Regions from separate parts of the Homo sapiens genome. Here region 2 is linked to region 1. Evidence: promoter capture Hi-C in 16 types of primary human blood cells and fetal thymus (Javierre and others, 2016). All regions are on one chromosome and are shown on one strand. The core of a region is centred on a gene start or on the middle of the fragment in contact, and the rest is flanking DNA. Distances in the headings are between cores, read along the strand shown. Region 1 holds the start of SSTR5 (somatostatin receptor 5). Region 2 has its middle 33 kb from the start of GNG13.

What was found. The method cuts DNA at HindIII sites, captures the fragments that hold promoters and counts their contacts. A CHiCAGO score of 5 or more calls a contact.
Region 2: a fragment that was not itself captured here is called in contact with the fragment with the promoter of SSTR5 in region 1 in 4 of 17 cell types (M0 macrophages, M1 macrophages, endothelial precursors and 1 more); the score reaches 9.6 in M0 macrophages.

What each region holds. Positions count from the first base shown.
Region 1 is chr16:1,068,903-1,075,443 of GRCh38, reverse strand. SSTR5 (somatostatin receptor 5) reads right to left here and starts at 2,697. Exons shown (of 2, transcript NM_001172560.3): 1 at 2,622-2,697. All of the region lies in intron 2 of SSTR5-AS1 (SSTR5 antisense RNA 1), which reads left to right. RefSeq lists enhancers at 3,196-3,937, 4,906-5,662. The HindIII fragment of the contact is 34,423 bases long and covers 1-6,541 here.
Region 2 is chr16:830,492-837,032 of GRCh38, reverse strand. No RefSeq gene overlaps it. Among named protein-coding and RNA genes, the nearest start is that of GNG13, 33 kb to the right of the region's middle. The HindIII fragment of the contact is 5,308 bases long and covers 530-5,837 here.

The DNA.
Region 1 (6,541 bases), core at 1,448-3,947:
GCTGGATCGAAGTGGTGCTGTGATCACAGCTCACTGCAGCCTCGACCTGTGCTCAAGTGATCCTCCTGCCTCAGCCTCCCTGTCTTTGTAGCTTCTTAGCTTCAGAGGAGCCTCAGGGTTCCTCCAAGGCCACTCCCATGCCCAGAGCCCAGCGAGGGGCTCCACAGGCTGCCAGGTCCCCGGCTCTGCGGCCCCCAGTGCTCCACCTCCGGAGTTAGACTTCAGAGCAGCAAAGGACACAAATAGACCATTATTGCTGTACCTGACTCTTGGAACATAATTCTGCAAGAGCCGTTATTTGGAAGCAGTATCCTCTGAATCATAAAATTACGCACTCACGGGGAATTGTCCCGGTGGCCCTGTCCCTTGTGGGTGGGGGATTCACTGGAGGGGGAGCCAGCAGTAGGAGCTTTCTGATCCCGAGCCCTCGGCCACGAAGGGATCTGCTCAGCCTGACATGGCACTGGGAGAGACCCCGGCCCCTGACCACTCCCCACACGGGCTGCGTGGTCTGGGGTAAGTCACGGGCTTCTCTGAGCCCAGCTTCTGGGATAGGCAACTCCTGCAAACTGTAGGGTTGCTGAGCTGATGAAACTGAGTGAGCTTCTGTGTGCAGGGTGCTGCGTGCATCCACTCCCAGCAGCATCCATCCCTCCCATCTCCTGCCCCCACCCCACAACTCACCATCTGCAGGTGCCCGGTGTGCCAGGGTCAGCCCAGAAGCCACAGGGGACCCAGATGGCCCCAGTCTGCCCACAGCACCGCTCCCGGCCTCACCTCCCCACGACGGGGACCACAGCGGGGCTGGCATACACTGGGCGCTCAACGATTGCTCCCACAAGCTGCCCTAAGCAGCCCAGCATTTCCCCAGCATCCAGGAGGCCGCTGGGCTCCTCGGAGAAGGGGGCAGTCTTCACAGGGGCCTGGGACCAGAGGCGGGGCCTCAGCACCAAGTCCTCCATGACTGGGTGGAGGTCTAGCCTGCACCCTGCCAACTCCTTCCAGGCTAACCCAGCACGAGGTCGGGGAGTCGGCTCCTTCATGGGGGGCAGCGATGCGGCTGCAGCTTGGAGGGGCTGCGGAACCTGCTGCTCGGGGAGGCAGCGGCTCACACGGCCGGGGCCCACGCCGCACCCTGGAGAGGCTGCAGACCCACCCGGGCTCCTCCATTGTGTGCTGGGCAGGGGCAAACGTCGGGGGACACCCTAGCTAAGACTACAGGCCCCAGCCCCTCCAAAGGCCCCGGAGCCAGGCCTGTGCTCCCAGGACAAGCGTTCTGACCTGTTTCCTCTGTCGTAAGGGTGGCCTGGTGGCAGGCCACTGCCCCCTTGGGGTCCAGCTCTGTGAGTGCAGCCAATGGCACCCCTGCCTGTCCCCCACATACACGCCACCTGTCCCTGCGGCAGCCTGTGGCCAGGGGCACATACCCTCCCCAGGAGAGGGAAACTGAGGCAGGTGTGGGCCAGCCTGGAGCAGCAGCAGCAGGGGTCCCGCGTGCTCCGCGAACGCTTCTCGGGGCACCCTCCACACCAGGCACCTCCTGACAGCCTCGCTGGGTCTTGCTCTGGAAATCAACGCCAGGCGCCTGTCCTTGGTGCTGTTGACCAGTTTCTGCCCAGGAGGCTCTGGCAGTCCCCACCTACATAGTCCAGAATCACTGCCTTCAGAAAGGGCTCAGCCTCACTGGAACCATCCCCAACTTCTGTCACCATGCACTCCGCTCTCTTGCCCTTGAGGGGGCCCCAGGCAGGCTGGCAGGCTGGGGACAGCGGGTCGGGCACGTGGGTGGGTCTGGGGTGGGGGAGGAGGGCCAAGGGCACACACCCCAGTGGCGTGTTCTCTATTCTGGAGAGGGTGAAGACGCCAGGAGGATTCCAGGTACACGCGGTGCCTTGGACAGGAGGGGGCTCTGTTCGCAGCGGGCGGGGTGGCACCCCAGCCTCCCCAGTCTTGGGTTTCAGGGAACCCATCTGTGAGTGCCAGGTCACAGGGCCCCTGGGTGCTGGCCTCTGCCTGCTGCCTTCCAGGAGCTCACCGACCCAGCTGCGCGCAGGCACCAGTTGCCTCCCCCGGCACCCAAATTGCGGATCCTCCCCTCGCTGGGTGCCACGGGCACCCTGGGACCCTCCTTCCGTGGCCCAGTGGTTCCCTGTGGCCTGAGTGCCACTTCCGGCCCCCAGCCCCAGGCTCCGAGCCCTCCCCAGCCTTACCCACCCTCCTCCAGCTCCAGGAGCCAGCCCCGCTGTGGCCCCCGTCGTGGGGAGGAGAGGCCGGGAGCGGCGCGGTGGGCAGAGTGGGGCCATCTGGGTCCCCTGTGGCTTCTGGGCTGACCCTGGCACACGGGGTGCCTGCAGATGGTGAGTTGTGGGGTGGGGGCAGGAGATGGGAGGGATGGAGCTGCTGGGAGTGGATGGAACGGGAGGGGAGGGACCCCCGGCGGCGGCAGGAGAGCCCCGCGGGTGTGCGGAGGGCGCGTGGGGGACAGTGCGTGCAGCGGGCTGGGGGCGCACGGCGGGACCCCGGGCCGGGGCTGCGCACACAGGGTGAAACCCCCAGTGGGGATAACAGCCGAGGGCAGGGGGTGCCCGCGCGGGAGGGGGACAGGGGCGGGCGGCACTCACCTGGGCGGCGGCGCCCTCTGAACGGGGGAGCCCCGATGTCCGCGCGGCACTGGCTCCGGGCTCCCGGGCGCCGGCTGGGAGGGGGCGGGGCGGGGCGGGGGCGGGGCAGTGCCTGGTGGGGGCGGGGCAGGGCCGCTTCACCTGCTCGACTCCCGGGTCCCACGTCTGGCCTCCGGGAACCCTGGCGCACTCGCCCACAGCCCTGGTCCCACTGGCAGTGACCCCATGATCGCCTGCGCCCCCACCCTATTTTCTTGCTGTCCGCTCTGTGGTAGACCCCAGCTTGGGGTGGGGGTCCTGCCGCCAGCAGGAGTCCAGGGGGTCCCTCGTCGAGAGTCTGAAGAGGGTGGAGGGTCCTTGTTCAAGGGGAGAGGGTCAGGGGCTCTGCAGACGTCTCTGAGGGGTGGGCTGGGGTTGTGGAGATAAGTGGGTGTGTGGAGGCTGGTGGGGGCGGCAGGCAGCCCCAGCGAGGGGGGTCCGTGGTCGTGGGATTTCCAGGACACTCCACTCGGGTTTTATCCATGCCTTATTTGTGGATCCTACACATATTTAAGCATAGACTACCTGCTAAGTTGTTCTTTTTATTTCCCCTGAAATGAATCCATGGGTACACCTTAGTCCCTCACCTAAGGTGGGGTTCTCAGGCAGGCAGCAGAGTCACCTGGGTCCTCAAAGCAGATTCCTGGGCCTCGAGCTGGGCCCCCGACTCCCCAGGCAGTGAGGGCCTGGGAATCTGCATTCCTGAGAAGCTCCCGGGATGCTGATCCCCGGGCCCGCCGTGAGCGCCGCTGGTTGTAAGAAGCGGGACCGAGCGCCTCCTCCCGCTGAGCGCGGAGGCTGGGGATCACCGGACATTTTCCCACCAGGAGGTCCCCCAGCCCCCTCCCCTGACTCTGTGCCGACCCAGGGAGCCCCGCCACTGGCTGAATGAAGTGAGGCGCCCCCAGGTGACAGCAGAACTCGGAGGGCCCCTCTCTGAGGGGACATGGGAGCAGCCGCCTGCCGTCTGTTCACAGGTGGGGTCGGCTCCTGTTGAACAGGCGCCAGCAGCTCCCTTGAAGGCCGGGTACCGGGACCATGTTCTCTCCTTTAAGCGTTTCAGTGTTTCCACATGTTCTGCAAGCAGCGCGTGTTATGTTTACCATCGAGCAAGAGTGCTTAGAGGACCATGGCACCTGGCCCCAAGGTCCCCTCCCCTCCTCCCCAGCCTGCGGCCATGGCCAGGCCCTCAGGGGAGGCTGCAGGCTGGTCCCAGGTCCCCTGCCCAGAATCCGCCCCATAAGCCTTTCCATCCTCTCTGGAGGTACCTGGGCTGTATCCCTCCCACCCTCCCACAGCAGTGGCTTCCCAAGGCAGATCCTCTGAGAACCCCCTTTGTGACCCCTAACGCCTCCCCCATCTCCATCTGCTGCCCCTCCCCTCAGCCTCTGCCCACCATCCTCATGGTTCTCGCCTCAGCCCCTGGCTGTGTTCCTCCAGCTCCCACTGCCTCGCACCTGGGCCCCCATCTGTCATGTTCTGGGGCTCCCTGAGAAGCCTCTGGGGTCCCACTGTTCTGGAATCACTGGGTGCCCCAGGGGTGCAGGGTCCGGTGTGCGAGTCACGGCCCAGCGCCCAGTGGGAGCTCAGCCCTGCGGGTGGGTGGGCGCTGGATCTACTCACATCCCCAACATCAAGCTGGGACACCCCCCACCTCCAAGCACCTGGGCCCTCCTGGGGGCCTGATGGCCAGAGAGGGGACCTGTCGGCCCCACAGTGCCCCTCCCCACATCGGCCACCCTGAGTTCTGGGCAGGAGTCCCCTGGCCTCAGTCCCACCCACCCCAGGAGGATCAAATGAGGTCATGCCCGCCTGGGACGCTGCAGAGGTCAAACCCAGCACCGTGAGGATTAGGGGCTGCCAGTAGCCATGGCAACCGATGGTGGCTGGATGGACTCCGCAGGGACGGTCCTCAGACCCCTCTCCAGGGACCCCACCCTAACTGTGACCTGTCCCACGGCCCGTGACACCCCCTCTCCTGAGGCTGAGGACAGCAGCTCCCGGACACAAAGCCCGTGCCCCTCCCCCACCAGGCAGAGGCTTGGTCACTGGGCTGACTCCCCTGTAATTATTCAAAAGCAACAGGGGCTGACTCCAGCTCACCTGGAACACCCCAGAGGCCTCTCGTCTTAGTCCCCAGACTGGGCTGGGCCCTGGGGGTGGCGGCCAGGAGGAGTGTGGGGCACTCTGCCCTGCAGCCAACAGGGCCCTCCCTCCGCTCCTCCAAAGGGCCCCGCTGCCCACTGTCACCCTCTGAGCATCAGGCGTTTGCCCTGGCTGCCCCCCTGCCTGGTGCACCCCACCTCCCTTTCTGCAGGTAACTCCCCTGGCAGCTCAAGCAACGCTTCCTCCGGGAAGCCCGGGCCGCCCCACACTTGTTCCGTCGACCGCTGCCCCCAACAGCCTGCAGATGTTCACAGGAGGCCACGGGGCCTGGTGGGTCTCGACGTCGCCCCCGGGTCTGATCACAGCAGGATTCCAATAAACACGGGTCCACGTGCACCTCCCGGCCCTGGCTGGTGCAGCACAGCCCGCCAGACAGGAGGTCAGAGATCAGCCCCCCACCGGGGCAGCACAGCGGGTCACCAGCCTCCCGACAGGAGAAGAAAACACTGGCGCAGGCGCTGCCGGCATGTGTTGCTGGGACTGGGCTGGGAGGGTGTCCTGGTGTCTGAGAGCCTCAGGGAGCTACCGCAGAGCGTCCCCAAGAGCACAGGGTGCCCTGACATCCTGCGGATTCCAGCCTGGGGACCCGGCAGCAGGGGCTTCCCACCAAGGCGTCTGGAGTGAGATGCAGGCTGCAGCTGCCAAGGGCAGAGCGTGGCCCGGGGTCCAGACAGAAACAGGGAGACCCTCAAAGGGTTTCAAGGATGGGGCCTTCTGCAGGGGCCTGAGTCCCGCCCCTGGGGCCCTGGCTGACCCTCCTGGCCGTGGTCTCGAGCTTCAGTGGGCACTCTGTTAAAATGGGGTGCTCATTAAAATGCAGCTTCCCAGGCTACTCCAGCCTTCAGGATGGGAGGCGGGGGCAGTGCTGAGGCCCTCACCCACACAACCCGCTGGGGTGCCCACTCTGTCCCCTGGCACCTGGACCAGTGCCCAGTGTGGAGTGACGTCCCATGAGCACCAAAGACCTGCCCCCTCCCAGCCCCAGGTAGAAGCCACTGCCGGGCCTGCACTTGGGGGAAGGTGAGGATGAGGAATTTGAGTGAATATGCCCTGGAAACCGCGTCTGGAGCTGGTGAGAGACTCCCACACAAGACCCCCACCCTCCTGGGGGATCATGGGGACCCCCCAGTCCCACCTGGGCTACGGCAGCTCTTTCCTCCGCCAGCAGGTTGTACCACCCAGGTGAGGCCTCAGGCCTGCAGCAGCACTCTGATAGGCCCAGCTGGGGGGCGGGGCCTGCTCGCCTAGGCACCTCTGTGCACTCTGATAGGTCCAGCTGGGGGGCGGGGCCTGCTCTCCTGGGCACCTCTGTGCACTCTGATAGGTCCAGCTGGGGGGCGGGGCCTGCTCTCCTTGGGCATCTTCATTTGAAGATGGGGAAACTGAGGCTCAGAGAGGGTAAAGGGCTTGGCTTGGAGCTGAGTCTCTGGATGCTCAGGCCGGGGCCCACCCAGGACACCCTGCTTTTCAGTGAGTGGAGGGGCTCTGCAGGTGTGAGGAGGGAGATCAGGGCAGATGCAGGTACCTCCTGGCCCCTGCCGCAGCCCAGCTGGGACCCGCCTCATCCCAGACAATGAGGCCCCAGGAGTCCCGGCCCAGCCTCAGCTTTGGCAGGGCCCTGGTTCATCCCGGGAGGTGCTTCACGCGGTCACCAGGCAGCCCCACTCCTGCCAAAGGCTCCCCATACGGCAAGATTCACCCTCTTCCCGGGATGT
Region 2 (6,541 bases), core at 1,934-4,433, 240 kb after region 1:
TTCAATCTGAAAACCAATCAGCCAGGCACGGTGGCTCACATCTGTAATCCCAGCACTTTGGGAGGCCAAGGCAGGTGGATCACTTGAGGTGAGGAGTTTGTGACCAGCCTGGCCAACATGGTGAAACCCCATCTCTACTAAAAATACAAAAAATGAGCCGGTCATGGTGGCAAGCACCTGTAATCCCAGCTACTCAGGAGGCTGAGGCAGGAGAATCACTTGAACACAGGAGGTGGAGGCTGCAGTAAGCGAAGATCATGCCACTGTACTCCAGCCTGGGCAACGATTGTGAAACTCCATCAAAAAAAGAAAAAACAAAAACAAAAAGCAAATCAACCAATTAAAACACTAAGAAAAACCATATGATTGTATCTCTGATAGATACAGGAAAAAACATTAGACAAAATTCAACACTATTCATAATAGAAACTCAGCAAATTAAGAAGAGAAGGAAACTTCTTCAGCCTAATAAAAGGCATCTACAGAATCCATAGCCCTCATACTATTTAATGGGGAAAAACCGAAAGCTTCACTGTAAGATCAAGCACAGGACAAGGACAGCCACTCCCACTGTTTCTATTCCATATCACACTAGACTTGCTAGCCAGAGTAATAAGGCAAGAAAAAAGAAAGCAACATGGATGCCGCCAAAGGCACTGACGGAGTGAAAGTTTACACCAAGTTTCAGAATTGGAGAAACTAACCTATCCTGAAACACACATGAGGACAACGGTTCCCTCTGTGGGGGGGGTTACCTGGGGAGAGGCATGAGGAATGTTCAGGGTGTTGTTCTGTCTTGACCAAGGAGTGTTCTGTCTTGACCGAGCTGTGGGTTACTGGTGTCACATTTGTTAAAACTCATCCAGTTATAACCTAAAATATGTGCATTTTATGTTAGCGGTTGAGGACTCACCACTGCAAACCCTGCAGGCTCCATTTGGGGAGGCCCCCCTACATGTGGCTACTGTGCCCATAGCTGCCCAAGCAAAGGCCCCACGAGGACCTGGGCCTGTTGGTGCAGAGCCCTGTGAAGCGGAGGCTGCACCCCCAATAGGGCAATACCCAGCACCACCCCCATTACAGACCTTCCAGACCACCCTAGCATGTTCTCACACATGCTCAAAGAGAAAAGGCATCTCTCATCTTCGAGTGTTCCCTGTTCACCCTCTTTCCTTAATTTGCCTTACATGGTCACCCCTGAAAAGCCCCTTCTGAGCTATCCTTCCCTCCAGGTCCCAGAGATGCACAGCTAGGCACCCACAGGCCGCAGGCAGCTCCCGCCCAGATGATCCTCGGTGCTCCAGCACAGGGCCTCAGGCTGAGGTGTGGGGAGAAGTGTCCAGCCATGCAGCTGTGTGGCTGGTAACTCACCCCACTATTCCCAGGGGCTCAGAAGGGGACAGACGGTCTCAAGAGACAGGTCGGCCATCGCTGCACAGTGGGGGAGGCCACAGCTCTGTGTCCCAGACAAACGCCCAGCACGAAGGTCACACAGCCACCTCACTTGGGCGGGGGGTCGGGGGGGGGGGTCATGCCCAGAAGCAGCCCCTGTGTCTGGCCCAGCCCCTGGCCTGGCCTGGGGTCTGCAGAGCAGGCAGATGCCCTCCCCCTCCCCTTCAGGCCCATCACTTTGTGGGGTCCTCTGAAGCTGGGCCTGAGGGGGCTGCAGCCCCCAGACTGGTTTCCCCCAGTCCAGGCCCTCCTGGAGGCTCATGGCTTGGCACAGGCAGAAACCAGGGAGTTTGTGTGGGGAGGGCAGGGCAGGGCGGGCCACACATGGAAGGGCATCCTCTCTTCCACTCCCCACCTCCCTCCACAACACGAGTCATGCCCATTCCCCAGGCCAGTCTGGTCCCACAGGCCCAGGGTCACAGTCCACATGGAGTCTGGACAGCCATTTAATTTGGTGAGGGACGTGAGGATGGGATTTTGCCCCTACTAAAGACAAGTCTGTAATAATACGGCCACAAAAGTTCTAGAAGAAACCATTTTGCTACCCATGGTGACTCAGGCAAGGACCACCAAGGGGGCGAACTGTTTGGTGACAGGTAATAGGAATCGGAGACCACAGGGCAAGAGGAGCCCAGCCTGGGCCCATCACAGGGACAAGTGCAGCTGTGGTGTCGGTGGAACAATGCAGAGACGCAGACACAGCACCCAACAGAGGAGCCGGCTGAGGGTGCTGGGTGGAGACTGTGGGCTGAACTCCCAGCCCACGGGAAACTCAAGGAGTGAGGAATGAGGCAGACGGCACAGACGAGCTGGCTGAGGGTGCTGGGTGGAGACTGGGCTGAACCCCCTCAACCCCAGCCCACAGGAAACTCAAGGAGTGAGGAATGAGGCAGACGGCACAGGAAAGCATCAGGCGTATCAAAATGCCAAACTTCTGCCAAGACAACCAGGCTGGTACACAGGCCCCGCGAGCCACTATCCCTCAGTGGGAAATTTGAATTCTCCAACTTTGTTCCTTTTCAAGATGATTTTGGCTCTCTGCCATCTCTTGCAATTTGATATGAACGTTACAGTCACCTTGTCCATTTCTGCACACACAAAAATCAGCTGGGATTCTGATACGGATTGTGTTGAATCTGTAGATCAATTTGGGAAGTATTCTCATCTTAGCTATATTAAGATTTCCTATCCATGAACATGGATGTCTTTGCATTTATTTAGACCTTTCTTTCTTTCCAGTGTAGTTCCAGTGTACAAGTCTTGCACTTCTCTTGTTAAATTAATTTTTTTTTTGAGACAAAGTTTCACTCTTGTTGCCCAGGCTGGAGTGCAATGGCATGACCTCAGCTCACTGCAACCTCCACCTTGCAGGTTCAAGCGATTCTCTTGCCTCAGCCTCCCGAGTAGGTGGGATTACAGACCTGCGCCACCACACCCAGCTAATTTTTGTATTTTTAGTAAGACGGGGTTTTGCCATGTTGGCCAGGCTGGCCTCCAACTCCTGACCTCAAGTGATCCACCCACCTCAGACTCCCAAAGTGCTAGGATTACAGGCGTGAGCCACCACGGCCAGCACAGATTCGTGTTTGAATGCATGCACCTGTTCACTAATTCACTGGATTTGTTCTCTAATGGGAGTGTCCCCACGTCGGGAGACGCTGAAGTATTTACAGTCACAGTGTCTGCTGCTTTCTTCAAAACGGTGGGCAGAAAACACAAAGGCATGTGCGTAACGTGTAAAACACATATGGGCAAGTTGCCGAAATGGCTGACCCTGGGCCTGGGTGTGTGGATGTTCTCCGGGCTATTCAGCCTTTGCTTGAAAACCTTCAAGTCACACAGCTGCCAGGAGGTCATCACGTTGGCGTGACCCCTCCCCTAGACCCGGCCAAGGCTCTGGCTGAGATGACCTGGACGGTGCCCTCGGCTCAGGCACAGCTTGGGGAGGCTGCTTCTCCGGGAGAGGCGCCGGGGCTGCTGTCCCCAACCCAGCCTCCCCATGTGGCTGCCCTGGGCTGTCCGCTCGACGGCCCCCTTGCTGGGGCAGAACCTTCTCTACCATGGAGCAGGTGCCTTTGTCCATGGGCTCCCGGGCATGAGCCCCCTGCTCTCCCCCATCCAAGACGCAGACCCCAACCCAAGCCACTGTTCCAGGAATAAAGAGGCAGCCACTGCAGACTACAGGGATTTGTGAGCGAGATTGGTGGGATGGGTGATGGTGAGTGGAACACCCCTTCTCCCTACTTCCAGCCTCCTGCCTCGCACCCCCTCCCCTCGCCCCTCCTGGCCATGCTGCCCCACTCAGCCTCACGCAGCCTGGCCACATTGTCCCAACGCTGTCCTTTCAGAGTAGGGAGTAATGTTCAGCCCGACCCCGGTTCCCCGTGCCCTGAGTCCCCCACAGTTCCTCACAGTCCCCGTTAACAAGCACACTTGCAGGGGGCGGCCGTACACACGCAGAGCCCTTGCTGCCATGACAGGGCCAGCCCAAGAGGCGGGGGCTGCAGCCACTGCTCTCATGAGGGTGGCAGGAGATGCCAGCCCGGAGCCAAAGTGTCCGGAGCGGCTCACAAAAGGTAGCTCACAGGGGCGCCGCCCCGACACCGTGATCCACCCAGCTGAGCTCCCTTGTGATGGCCGTAAATTTTTATGAGCGCTAAAACAGCTGGGGCCTCACCTCGCCAGGGAACAGACTCAGAGCAAATGCTGGAGGTGACTGTCCTCCTGTTCTCGGAGCTGCCATGAAAAGCCTCTGCCACAGGGTGGATGGGGCGGAGCGGGGCGGGGCGGGGTGGCGGATGGGCTGAGGATCCACAGGGTGGACGGGGCGGGGCGGGTGCTACTGCTCTGACCTCCTGGACAGAGACGGCGAGGACAGGGCACCGGCTGGGGGCAGAGGCTGCTGTGACAGCCGTCCTGTCTCTGTCCTGCAGCCAGCCCTCCTGGCTCCGTCAGATCAGCTCCTTTCAAAGCCCAAACATCCCACAGCTAAACCTGGAGGGGGGCGCAGTGGCTCACACCTGTTGTCCCAGCACTTTGGGAGGCTAGGCCAGGAGGATCACTTGAGCACAGCGAGCCACGATCTTACCTGTACTTCAGCCTGGACAGCAGAGTGAGACCCAGCTCTAAAAAAAAGAGAGAGGCCGGGCACTGTGGCTCACGCCTTCACCCTACACCCTGACCACCCCACCCCCTCCCCACCCTCATGCTCCTCCCCTGCCTCATACCCCCTCCCCCCTCACACTCCACCCCCCCACGCCCCTCCCCCCAAGCCCCTCCCCGTCTTGCTCCTCCCCTGCGTCATACCACTGGTGGCATGGGGCAGGGTGGGTGTCTCACCAGGGAAGGAGCTGAGGCCACAGGGCCCTGAGCAGGGCCGGGGCAGAGTCCACAGGCCCCACCCATTGGCAGGTTCATCCATTTGTTTCTGTGTTGATTTTGCTTTTTTTTCCTAAAAATTTAACAAACGTCCCCCGCCCCGGCCCTGCCCTGGCCTTAGAGATGGGTCTCAGAATCCCGGGCCCCAGCCGGGAGGAGAGGCCCTGGTCCTTGCTTCTGCTGAGGGCACGCACCCTGCTCTCAGGGCGGTGTGGCCTCAGGAAAGGGGCTGAGGGGCTGCCCTGGCCTTTTCTGTGAGTGCCACGCTGGCCAACTGCCAGGAAAGTAAACGTCTCCCAGAGGGAAAAAACTCACAGGGCGGAGGGTGCCGGGGTGGCACAAGGGGTTCTGGACCAAGGGGCTGGAGGCAGCTCTTGTCCAAGGAGAACCCCCCTCCCAGGCACCCGCTGGTCAGAGCTGGGGCCCCCACACCTGTTCCCAGCGGGCCCCGTCCCCACGTGCCCGGCAGCCTCTGTGACGTTCAACACAGCCACGGGGTGCTCCAGGTGCCTCGCTGGGCCAGAAGTCGAAGGACAGAGGGCTCGGCAGGGCTTTCCTGACCCGTGATGATGGTGGGCAGAGCCCTCCCTTGAAACCAGCCCAGCAACGCAGGCCAACTTTACCCACCTGGTGGGACTAAACCCCTCTAAGGAGAGGGGGCCCTTCGGGGACACAGGCTGGGGTTTTGGGGAGTGAGGCTCTGTGAGCCCTGCCCCAGGACCACCACACAGCAGGCCCACAGGCCCAGGCAGGGACTGCAGACACAGGGCCATGCGGGGCCGGGAGCGCCTCCTCCTGGGATCCCTGCAGCCCCTGCCCTACACTCCCAGGCTCAGGGGCCTCCTCCTGGCCCCGCCGTCCCAGGCTCAGGGCCTTCCTCCCGGATATTTCTTCTGGAGCCTGACCCATGGGCTTTCCTGCATCTTCTTTAAAGATAAAATCGAAAACAAATCTTTAAAGGCCATCTCCAAAAACCACAGAGGCCGGAACAAAGTAAAAATAAAGCTTCCTCTCAGGAGCTTCCTGCTTATCTAAAAACGCCTGTGTCAGCAGCACCTTCTAGCCCAGAGGGGTCCCTGGGGCCCCAGCCTCTGGCAGGGGCCGGACCCAAGGCCACGTGACCCACGGCAGAAGGTGCCGGGCCCTGGCGTGCGGTGCCACGGGACGGGGACAGTGACCAGCCCTGCGGCTCAACGTCAGTGTCCGCGTGTGTGGAGTCTCCTGCTCAAGGGAAAAATGCCCTTCAGTCCTACGAGGAGGCAGCAAGGTGGCTAAACAGTGCCTCCGACCACTCAAATATCAAAAAGCTGCCTTGCCTGGAAACAGGGTCCTTGCCGACGTCATTGAGATGCGGTCATACCGGATCAAGACGGACCCTAAATCCAAAGTCAGAAGACACGGCCATGACGACCAAGGCAGAGGCTGGAGTTATGAGGCCACAGCTAAGGCAAAGCTGAGCGCCAGGGGCTGGAAGAGGCAGGAAGGCTGTCCCGTCCCCCTGGGGACCCTCCGTGGCGCAGGCCCGGCAGTCCCCGATCTCAGGCTCCTGCAGCCTCGTTCCACAAGCCGGGCTGGGCTCCGGCGCATCCAGGAGCAGGTTCCCCTCCTCCCTGTGGTCAAGGCTCCAAGCCTGCCTCCTTCGCTCCTTCCCTTCCCAGAGTCTCACCTACCTCGGAAAAGAGGAGGTGGCCTGAGACCGGCTCTGCCGACA